2 separate regions of the Homo sapiens genome follow, and region 2 is linked to region 1. Evidence: promoter capture Hi-C in human tissues and cell types (Jung and others, 2019). All regions are on one chromosome and are shown on one strand. Each heading gives the region's core, a stretch centred on a gene start or on the middle of the fragment in contact. The rest is flanking DNA. Distances are from core to core; before and after follow the strand shown.

The links. Contacts are between HindIII fragments. The study calls those that stand out against the background at their distance.
Region 2: a fragment that was not itself captured here is called in contact with the fragment with the promoter of ABCC9 in region 1 in 2 of the 25 tissues and cell types used here (dorsolateral prefrontal cortex and heart left ventricle).

The regions. Positions count from the first base shown.
Region 1 is chr12:21,939,404-21,945,535 of GRCh38, forward strand. It overlaps ABCC9 (ATP binding cassette subfamily C member 9), which reads right to left and starts at 2,023. Exons shown (of 40, transcript NM_020297.4): 1 at 1,797-2,023; 2 at 1,307-1,422. RefSeq lists an enhancer at 1,456-2,433. The HindIII fragment of the contact is 18,026 bases long and covers 1-6,132 here.
Region 2 is chr12:21,864,559-21,870,429 of GRCh38, forward strand. The region is part of intron 18 of ABCC9 (ATP binding cassette subfamily C member 9); the gene reads right to left. Among named protein-coding and RNA genes, the nearest start is that of ABCC9, 74 kb to the right of the region's middle. The HindIII fragment of the contact is 8,385 bases long and covers 1-5,871 here.

The sequences.
Region 1 (6,132 bases), core at 773-3,272:
GATATATTGATAATTATTGTGTTTATCAAAGGCATTTTATTCAATCCACGTTCCTAATCCTTAAATTTCCAATTGTCATTTAATGTTTCCCTCCCAGACACCAGGTTCAATTGGGAATGTTTGGGGAAGGGTATAAATCGCTGTTCTTGCTGGCTAAACTCTGTCACCTGACATCCTTCAGCTCCACCCCTTCTGGAGCTGTTTAGATTCAGCTAAGCACTGAGGGAGGCCCAAGCATCAAGGAGAGAGAGAGAAGGGAGAGCAGATGGGGAGATATAATGTTTCCCTTTCCACAAGCATAAGCCATCGAAATATGCTCAGTTGTTTATGAGAGGTGATAGAGTTGGAGAACTTGACTGAATAAACTTTAAAAACAAAGATCAAAGTGAAATTTTGCTTCTAACGTATGTCTATGGAGCAGAAAACATAAAATAGAAATACTCCTAATTATCTAACTTACGATTTCATGGCAAGAATCGCACCCTCAGTGTTTTTATTCCTCGAAATGCATTACATGAAATTCCACACATCTAGAACATATACATTTTGGATTTAGTTGGTGAATATAATACCTGACCTATCCAGTCTGTTGGTTCCTCTGCAAGACACGAGCAGTAGTTATCTGATTTAATTCTAAAAACACATTTAAGTGCTGAGGCATATAAGGTACACCATTTATTGTGGCCAGCCCTGTCCTTTGGAAATAGACTACAAGTAAAGCAAGTGAAAACTTGTCTTCCTTCCTGTTCACTTAGCAGAAAGCGTTAGTTCTGATCGAATAGCAATTGCAGAGAGTTTAAAATGCTGGAAACACCTGGAGAAAACATGCTAAATTTAAATAAAAGTTTTCATTCTTACATATAAAAGGATTCATTCTTTAATCGTTTAGAGATTAACCAAATTCTGTTATGAAAGAGAAGCAGGACATTTTAAAGAACTTAGGGCTTTATCATCATCTAGAGCATTTTCAGGATGGATGTCACTTGCAAAAACAAATGCTGTAATCACTTCTTTGAAGTTATTCAGTCCCTAGTTCATGAAATAAAAACTAGAAGATGTATAGCTAGTTAGCTAGCTACCATGGCTATAACTATGACAGATCCAAGTGGGAAAATCACTGGCAAAAATGACCACTGACTTCTGACTTAGTGCCTGATCTGAATCCACCCATTTACTCTTCAGTGGCTGTGAAGTACCATCCCACACCAAAAGAAATGTTGAAATTACTCAGTAGGTATTCCTTAGATACTGCAATGGGATTTTAAAAAAAATCCCAAACTGAACAAATAAAGCAAAAAATAAATACCTTGGGCAATAGCTTCACGCTGCTTCAAACCCCTGCCGGTGCACTTGAGCTACCTTCAAAACACCGACTTCCTACACTGTCTTAAGATGTAAATTTCAAACCCGGACGCAGAACTCCTAAAAAAAAGTAAAGAGTAACAAAAATTAAGCAGATAGAAAACTACTTCTTGAACATACAAGAATTGTCTACAAGAAAGGCGGTAATAATAACTCCTAATAATAATAACTCCTTTCACTGTTTCCAGTTGATTTGAGTAGGAGACGGCAGTTTTGAAGTAAAACTGGAAACCTGATCCCCACCCCTTCACTTCTCGAGCCGGGCCTCGTCCCTTAATTCTAGAAATAGCGATCGCGAAAGCTAAGTGCCGAGAAGTGCGAGAGAGTGCGAGGGCGTTTTTGGATAGCAGAAATGTTAGCTCAAAATCGACAACTTACAGTTATTCCTAAAAATGTTTAAATGGCATTCATGTAAAAGACACGGATTCACTTACTCCGATGACAGTTTTCCTCCCCTAGGCGAAGCACGCAGTGCGCCGGAACGGATTATTTTTAGGGTGGTGGGAGACCAGCTGCTGCCTCCTATCGAGTTTCTAAATTGCACAGACTGCTCTGGGCCGGGGCAGACACCGCGGCTGAGAAGCAGGAAACTGGGCAGAAGCCCCGCGCGCCGCGCCTGGGGCCGGAGACCTTCCCCATCCCTGCTCTGCTCAGCTTTGACTTGGGGCGGGCGCGACGCCGCGATTTTACAAACCCAAGTAATAGGCGTCCCCTTAAACTTCATTAGACACTGAAACTTGGAATATGATTCCATGATTCTCCGGAGTCGGGTTTTCAAACGTCAAAACACTCAAGGTATTCTTGTTTCTTTGTTTTGTTTTTCCATGCTCTGTAAGCACCCCTTTATTAGCCACGTAAGGAAGCGGATTTGGGGATTTCGCTGTTTCCCCCTGAACGGATCCGGGAAATGAAGGGCTCATTCTAGGTAGAGGCACCCACTGCTGGGTTATGAGTGCACGAATGTCTCACAGGAGCAAGGCTGGCTCAAGTCTAATTTTCCGCTTTTCCCCGGCGACCTAGAAAACTTGGTTTCTCTGGTGGACCAGCCGCCGCGCTATCGAAGGGCGACCCTTGCCCACCGTCCCCTAAAGTGAGACGCTGATTCCCATGGACTGCGTAAACAGTCACCCTCTTCTCCTGTTTCCAACCAGAGACATAATTAACTCTCGAGATAACGTGTTTATATTAAGATCACCCCACAACCACTCCCCCGCGAAACACAAGCCGTGAATTTTGTCCCCGACAACCCTCTTTAATTAACACCGGATTTTCTCAAGAGCCAGTTTTGAGTCAGCTTGAGATAAGCATTGTTTTCAGGAACTGTCGTATTTTAATAAAGGATGGTCAGCCGGGCGGACTTCTGCCCCTGAGGCTCCGCATGCCGTCCTCAAGGGGCGCCGCTGCAGGACTGCGGTCTGCTGGCGCTGGTCCCCAGATCTGAACCCTAAACACCGGTGGCCTCGTGGCCTGTGCGATGCAGGCCGACTCCAGCCCTGCCAGTCCCAGGGGATTTCTCCGCCGGCGCCCCACTCTTGGGAAGGTCGCTGCGCTTCCGGGTGAGTGCCTGACCTGCGTCAGCGGCTGGGACTTGAACCCGCGGCCGCTAGGAATCTGCGAGGCCATATGGGGCCGAAACCTGGGAGGGTCCGAAGACTCCGTTCCTGTGGCCTTTGAACGCTTGACAACTTTACCCTGGAGCTGTCTGCAGCGGCGCAGGGAAATAAGAGAGCGTTTCAACAGTGAGGATCCTGGTACTATGGATGCAGCCCAGGGTGGCCGGGTGAGCAAGCTGGACGCGAGGCCAGAGGCTCTCCAGGGCATCTATGGAGAGAGAACTGGAAATAGGGGGTGCCAATAATCCCAAGATGAAAACTCTTGAGTGTGACTACACAAAATGAAGTTTACTTGAGGATTATAAAAGAATATTACAATTCATTAAGGTCATTTACAATGTTTAAAAATCATGCTTATTGTAGAAACTTTGGAAGATGTGAAAGTGTACAGAGGAGATCAAGGAGCCCCCCGTAGATGCACCTGTGCACACACACCCATAAAACTACTGAAAACATTTTTTTTTATGTTTTAACAAACACAGGCGGTATGGTGCATTGATTAAGAGTGTGGACTAGGAAGGCAGCCTGCTCGATATCACATCCTGCTAGTTAGTTCAGAGACTGAACAAGTCACATAAACCCTCTGTGTATCAGCTTCCTCCTCTGTTTAATGGGACAATAAAGATAAATAATTTAAATAAATATAGAATAATTTTTAAAATAATTTAAATGGCTATATACTATTCCATTGAAAGGCTATACCATAAGATTCATTTTCCCGTTGTTTGACATGTATTTGCCCAATTTTACTAATATCTGTGATCATATGATGACCTTTTTTCATAAACTTTTTTTCTTTCTAACAAGTAATGTTTTAAGATAAATTATGTGAAAAATAATTACGGGATCAAAAGTGGTAGATATTTTTAAGGCTGTCAACATAGAATGCAAAATCACCCTTCTATGAAGTTCGTATTAAGTCCCCCAAATTGTATGAGATGAGCTATTACACTTATACTCAAACCAGCATTGGATATTGCTATTTTTTATTTTAAAAAAATATTTTAACTTGACAGATAATATTCAATTCTGTTATTCACATTCAACATTTCCCCACTATTGATTAATCTTTGTATCCCCTCTTTTGTGGCAGTTTGTTCACATACTTGTGTACCTCATGGGTCTTAATGAAGTTTACCATTTGTATAAATGTTTCATAAGAGTATACTAATCAAATGTTTAATAAGAGGATACTAATCCTGCTTCATATATGACACATTTTTCCCAATTTGTCATATTGTTAAAAAATGATAGTGCTGCTGCCTTTCAAAAAAGTAAGAAAAAAGTTTTCATGTGTTCTGTAAAGATTTATTAGAGCACACACTATGTGCTAGACATAGAAGCTAGTGATGAGTCAGATCTCTAGGGTCTATTGCACTTCATTGAACTTTCTCCTAAGGGAAATTTTACGTAGGCAAATTTGCTGCTTGTTGCCTTTGCAATGTATTAGAACACTTTAGTTAATAAATATTTACCTTCATTTATATTTGTTTAAAGGCTTTAGTAAAAATTTGATTTTGGAATTTATTTTGGCATACACTATGGGATGAAAATCTGCATTTATACTTTATTTGTTACACCAACACCATTTACTGAATAATCTTTTTCTTCTGCATTGTGGTGTAATACCACTTTTGTCATATACACATAATTAGTTCATAATAAGATCTGTTTCCGGGCTACCTATTCTGTTCAATTGATCTGTTTCAATTTTTTATTATATTGCTATGATTAGACTGATTTGATTATCAGAGATTAAATTATATTGTAACCCTGACAGTGCCAGTCCCCTTTTCACTCTTTTCAAAATTTTCAAAGCTCCTCTCTTTTGGGGATTTTATTGGAATTTCATTAAAACTAGGAAGTAATTTATAAAGAACATATTTTTAGTGCTTTGTCTCTTCACCCAGAAATGTAGTTTCCCATTTATTTGTCTTCCTTTTATCCCAGTATTAAATTTATACAGGTCTGTGCATATTTTGTAAAGATTGATCATACAAATTTCATATTTTTGTTTTAATATTTTGTACTGCTATTAAGGATGTACTATTTATTTTGTCCAAAAAAAGTATATTTATCTTATATCCAGACACTTTATTAAGACTTCTCAGTAATCCCAGAGCTATTTCACCCTGTTACCTTGACTTTCCAGAAATACGATTTCATCTGCAAATAGTGGTACCCTTCCATTTTAAAATACTTACAGCTTGTTTGCATTTTATCTCTAATCTTCATTAAATACATTCCAGAAGTGTTAAATAATACAAGAAGATAAACCATTGTTTCTTTCAGAAATATATACAATATATTTTTAAATCAACATTGTAAGTATAATTTTCATGAAATAAAAAGTATCCATGATACATGTAAAATCCAAAGTCTTTTGAAATAACCATGATCCCAAAAAGATACAAAGTATTTCTATCTCCCAAGGAAGTTATCTTGTGCCTTTAACTAGTCAGTCTAACTGTCTCTCACTTAGGGTAACAAGTGACCTGAAGTCTATCACTGGAGATTAGTTCACAAATGTCATATAAAAGGAGTCATACAGTACATACTCCCTTGTGTCTGGCTTCTTTAGGTAAGCATAATATTTTTGAGATTCATCCATGTTGTTGTATATATGAATAGTTTATTCCTTTTATTGCTGAGTAGAATTTCACTGTATGAATATGCAGTTTGTTTATTCGTTCACCTATCTGTATACGTTTGGGTTATTTCCAGTTTTGGGCAGTGATGAATGAAGTTTCGGTGAACCGTTTTGTAAACATAGGTGTTTTGTTTTTTTTTTCCTCTTGGGTAAATATTAAGCAGTAGATTTGCTGAGTCATATGGTAACTATACATTTAACTTTACAGAAATTACCAAAATGTTCTTCAAAGTCATTGAAACATTTTACATTCCCTCCAGAAAAGTATGGCACTTGCTTCACAATCTTGCCAATATTTAGTATTATCTTGTTCTTTTTCTAAATTTTAGCCCTTATATTGCATGTGGACTGGTTCTTGATTGTGGTTTTAATTTGCATCTACCTTATAACGAATGATTTTGAACACATATTTTCATGGTGTTACTGGTCATTTATATATTTTTTCATGGTAGGCACAACTCTAAGGTGGCTCCCATGACATTTACTCCTGGTGTTACTCCCGTGATT
Region 2 (5,871 bases), core at 1,575-4,074, 74 kb before region 1:
AATAAACACTGGACATATTAAAGAGCACATTTCCCAAATGGTTTCTGATATTAATTTCAAAGACAAACCAGATAAGTAGTATTCTTCTTTATGTCTTCATCAGCTAGGAAATAATTGCTTAGTAAGCTTCTAAAACATAGATAGCACTGTTCTCTTTCATAAAAATTTTGGTTCATACAATGACTGGGTTCTAGTGCTAACCCTGCTCCAAACAGCTGTAAACTTGGGGAATCCCTCTAGAATACAGTTTCCCGTTTCATAAGGACTCTGTATTTCCAAGGCCTTCCAACCTTTAAAATTTGAATTCAATAAATTTAAATTCCAAATTAGCTACCCTAAGGTAGCAGCAGAAATACTTTTTGGGCACTAAACACGAAAGATACACAAAACACACTGGCCCCTCAGGAGCTTGTAAGAAAAACAGACATGCACCAGAAACCAAACTACATCTAAGTAGAATCAATTATTGATATGATTTATGTAAAAAGTGGGCTTTGGTCACAATTTGTTATGCCTGTATTATGAGGAAAGACACCTGAAGACCTATTTCTTTTATTGTTCTAATTTTTTATAATTTAGGGTCAGTTGAATTCAATAACATACACATTACAGACGTGAATTCAATAACCATACAAATAATTAAAGCCTACAGAAACTCCAAAAATTGATTCTATTTGACTTTGCAAAATGTTGTATGTTTTTGTGGAGAAAATTTACCTAATTATGCTACCTAATGATATTTGGTTTAGAGTTACTAAGGATCATTTTCACTACTGCACACTGCTAATGACATCTTGGGATGGCTGACAGAGGCAAAAAAGGCAACCTCAGACTAAAAATTTCCTCCCAATAATAATTGTTCCCTGATTTAAGTTACTGATAAAAAATAGGGAAATGATCATTTTTATGAATAATATTTTCCACGCAATATGCTTTAGATAACAAGAAATTTGGACTTTGTTTTCTGTGGTATAAATCCAATGGGTGACCTCACTAGTTTTAACTAATTTGAGGAAGACAGGGAAGAGAGAAGAGTGAGTATGTGGCAGAAATGAATGTGTTAATTTGTATTCTGGCCATTCAAGTGGAAATGCCCATTAGACATGTGTAAATACCTGTTGGACATTTGAGAATGTCAGCCCAACGCAGAGATATGGATTAAGAATTCATCAATCTATTCAATAAAGGTTGGTTAAATTCCGACTCTATTTATTCAGTATCAGTTAAAAAATATGCATTGATCACTTCCTAGTGCCACACGTTAGAGATACAGCAAACAAGAAAGATCCACTCCTTCTTTCACACCACTTTCACTTTTGTGGGAGCATAATAAGGGAATAAGGGCTGAGACAGGTGGGGTAAAAGATGGTAGTAGGGCACTGATCAAGAACCAACAACCAAAAACAAAGAAGCAAAGAACCAGAGCACCAAGCCACTTTTAGCAAATCAGAGTAAACAATAGAGTTGATGTCAGAGGGAAAATTAAGAGTGTGCTAGATGAAAAAAAAAAAAGCCAAGAGTACTTCAGACCAGAGAAAATATGTATTAGAAGGCCATGAGGTATCCTGATTACACAAAGAAGTGATGTATATTCAGCATGGCTGAAATGTAGGTGTAAATGGCAATGAACTTAAAAAGTAAGCACAGCCAGATAATGAAGGGGCTCATAATCCATTTTATAGAGCTTGAACTTTTCCTAAAAGTAAAAGAAAACTACTGAAAAAGGTTTAAACAAGAGAGAGATACAGGTTCAATTTAGAAATATCACTGTGATCACAGAATGTAACAACTGAACTAGAGGGAACAAGACTGGAGATCATAAAAGAAATCCTTTGCCAACCTCACAGATTTGACTCAGTCAAGTCACCTATAATCGTTCTTATAAAACACTGTACTTCTTCCTAGTCTTTATAAAACATTAATAAAATAACCATAAAATTATTTTCTTACTTCCTCTTGGTTTCCCCTGCTAAACAGTAAGCTTCATGAAAATAGGGGCCTGCCTTCTCTTGTTCACTTATTTCTCCCCCAACTTAGAACTAATACAATGATTTGCATATAAATGGTGTGCAACAAATATTTTTTAACAAATTAATAAATGCAAGGGTCACGGAAACCAAGAAGCCAAGTTGATTTCAAGGAGTCGTCGATGGGTGAAGAGTTTCAAAATCTATGGAGAAGTAGGACTGAGGACAAATTATTGGGAGTTAGCACTTAGGCAGTCATTGGTGAGACCCTCTCATCCAGGTTGCAATGCACAGAGTAAAAGAGAAGAACAGAGGTTAAGTGTGGGTGGACTAGGTCGTTAAAAAGAGAAATGTTCCAGTTGATTGAGAGATAAGAAAGACCATTATTTAAAAAATGGGTGGGGAATAATGGAGTGTGAAGAGCAATAAATAAAGACATTTATAAGAGAAAAGGGTTAATTAATGCAGTAAGGTCCTGAAAAAAGCAAAACAGCACATAGGGGATCTTCACTTCTGAAAACCTCTCCTTGAAGGATTTACGTATATTTTCCTTTTCTTTCAGAGAAAGAAAAAAAGAGGTAAACTTAGACTCATTTGTAGGTAATCATCTTCCAAAAACAAATTAACCCATTATTTCACTAACATTTTTATGAATAATGTTATAATCCTTAACTTCCAGAGACTACCTATTCCGGCCCTCTCACATATCAATATGTTTAATCAAATTCAGTTGTGGAAGGTTATATAATTTCTCTTCCAAAATAAAGAAGTAGATTTAGCTCTGTCTAGACTCATCCTCCACCATTCAATGTGGTACTCTACAGCACTCAAGACAACAGGAGAATGCAAAGAGGTCATATAGAAAATCCCCTTCTAGAAAACAGAATAAAGTTTCACTTCTGAAAACCTCTCCATGTAGAATTTGTGTGTATTTTCCTCCCAGAGTAAAAGTTAAAGTCGACACAGTGTATTAGCAACTTCCAAGTATTATGGTTAATAATATTATGGAATGGGAGAGTGACTTTTGCAAATTTAAATCAGGAATGACATTTGGAAGAAGGGAAACTAGATGCTGGCACAAACATGATATATTACATCTGACCCAGGAAAGCTGACTTAATATTATTATTCCTTCATGCCAGGAAAGTCACATGAAAAGGAATATTTCCTCCATTTGTCTGAAAATAATTGAAGCACTGTTACAAAGCTGATTACACTAAGATGTTGGGAGATAGAATGTCAGGACAGAAGGGGCCTGAAGAGGAGGATGGTTGATGGCATGGGTGAGAGGGAAAAGAAAAAAAAAAAAAAAGGAAAACAAAGATAAATGACAAGCTGTTTCTCACATCATTACCACCACAATTAAAAAGCATTCTGGACACTCCTCTGAAACTATTCATCAGATAAGGCATTTTAGTTCTAGCTCCTAAGATATCAGTAGAAATTATTGTTTATCATGACAACCAGGAAAGGACTTCAGTCAGGCAGAACATTTGTTTTTCAACAAATATGAAGCACACTTGGATGCAAGATTGATGTGCACATTGGCATTCTGACAATTTTGGAGAATTTTTTTCATTCCTCTCTCCTCTCTCTCATCTTTTCTCTTCTGGGTCTACAATATGTCAGACTAGGTCAAAGGAAGCAATTCCCAAGGAAACAACTATCGGCATCTGTATGTTCCACGTTCTACCCACACAGGTGTGTGCTGGATGAACAACAATGCCTTTTCTCCGGCCCAAAGTAAATATTTCCTGCTGCAGTAGGTCAGAGTACTTTACTCGATTTTGTTCATGCCTGTGCATGAGGACACATTCAAAAATAAAATTTATGGCCGGGCACGGTGGCTCACGCCTGTAATCCCAACACTTTGGGAGGCCGAGACAGGCGGATTATGAGGTCAGGAGATCGAGACCATCCTGGCAAACACGGTGAAGCCCTGTCTCTACTAAAAATACAAAAAATTAGCCAGGCATGGTGGCAGGCACCTGTAGTCTCAGCTACTCAGGAGGCTGAGGCAGGAGAATGGCATAAACCCAGGAGGCCGAGCTTGCAGTGAGCCAAGATCATGCCACTGCACTCCAGCCTGGGCAACAGAGTGAGACTCTGTCTCAATAAATAAATAAATAAAATTTATGCAATCAGAGACACATGTAATGGTGAAAGAATGATAGCAAAGTATTTGGTGTCTTACCATATCATTTAGTTTATTGTTTTGGTTTGTTTTGAGCTTTAAAAAAAACGAATTCAGTCTGTTGAAGTAAAGGACTTCTAAGCATTTACACAGCAGCAGCTTATGAATATCAATAATTTCTAAATTAGCTTAGCTTTAATTAATAGTTATATGCCTTTATTGGACTGGGCATACAGCTTTTGTTTCTGGAATGAAAAGAGTAATTACAAATAACTCTTTAAAAGAATGTCAGTATCCTCTGAATCTTCTTGATCCTAAAATATGTTTTATCAGATATTAAGGATATTATGAAAAAAATAAGTAATTCTTTTAATTAAATAAAAATAGAATTTGCATTAACTTATTCAATCTATTAGAATATTACATTTTCATTTGTTTGTGTGTTGAACCAACTTAAACATTTTTGAAGAAAACTTCGGTCCTTTCTGCAGCGAAGAGATAGCATTGTTGTCTAGTAAGGCAAATGCTCATAAAAAGATAATTTTTAGGTTACAGGAATTTTATAAATACTCAGAATTATCTCAATTTCCTTCTTACACTTTCATCCTGCTGGCTGACTCCAAAGTATATGCTGAATCTATTCACTTTGGTTCATTCCACAGCTACCATGTTACATCAAACTACCTTCATCTCTCATCTGAATTAGTGAAATGAACTCTTAAATGGTTTCCCGCACTTTCCCTCTTGCCTCTGTAATTCATTCTTCACACCACAAGTCCGAATCATTTTTTCAAATTGTACATCATATCTTTGCAAAAATGTAAATCACTCCTCTACTTAAACTTCTACAATATTTTCCCACTGAACTTAGAACAAAATCTTAACTCCACAGCATACCCAGAATGCTTTCCTCCTTTTCCAGGTAGCCTCAGCTTGCACCTGCATCAGTCAGTATTTACCAGCCATTCTAGACCCTTTTAGGATCCTCAAACACACCTCACAGGTATAGTACCTTTACTATATTGCCTTGTTTTATCATTGTCACAGCATTTATCAAAGTCTAATATTATGTCTTTTTCTTGTTGATTACTTATACACAGGCCACATTCTAGACTGTAACCGCATGAGATAGAGACTTGTCTTGTCTTGTTCAATTCTATATCCTTGATACCTAAATCAGTGTTTGGCATGAAGGAGGTACTCAGTAAATGTTGAATGAAAAAGAAAGGACTAAGAAATAAAATATCTGTATTCCATACTAAACATGGAAGATGGTCCAACTGATGTACAATTTATGTATTTTTCCAAGTGTAGTTAATTTCATTCCTGGATCAAACTAGATGTTGAAGATCTGCATACTTAGACTGTGTTGTTCTGATACTACCCATACCACATCCTTCACCCCCTCCTGCCTGCCCTCTAAACCTTCACATAACATTTATTATATAATCTATAATCTAGTATTATATTCTGAATTTTATTTGTAATAATTGGCACATGGAATTTACTTTTGAATAAATTTTAGGAATATTGAAGACATTAAGAATTAACCTTTTATTGACTTTTTATAAGGTATATGGAAGATATTTCTTTAGTTTTTTGTTTTTTTTTTTAAGAGAAATGGTCTCACTCTGTCGCCCAGGCTGGAGTGTGGTGGCACATTCACAGCTCACTACAGACTCAAACTCCTAGGCTTAAGAGATCTTCCTGCCTCAGTCTCTCAAGTAACTAGGACTACAGGCATGCATCACCATGACCTGCTTATTTTTA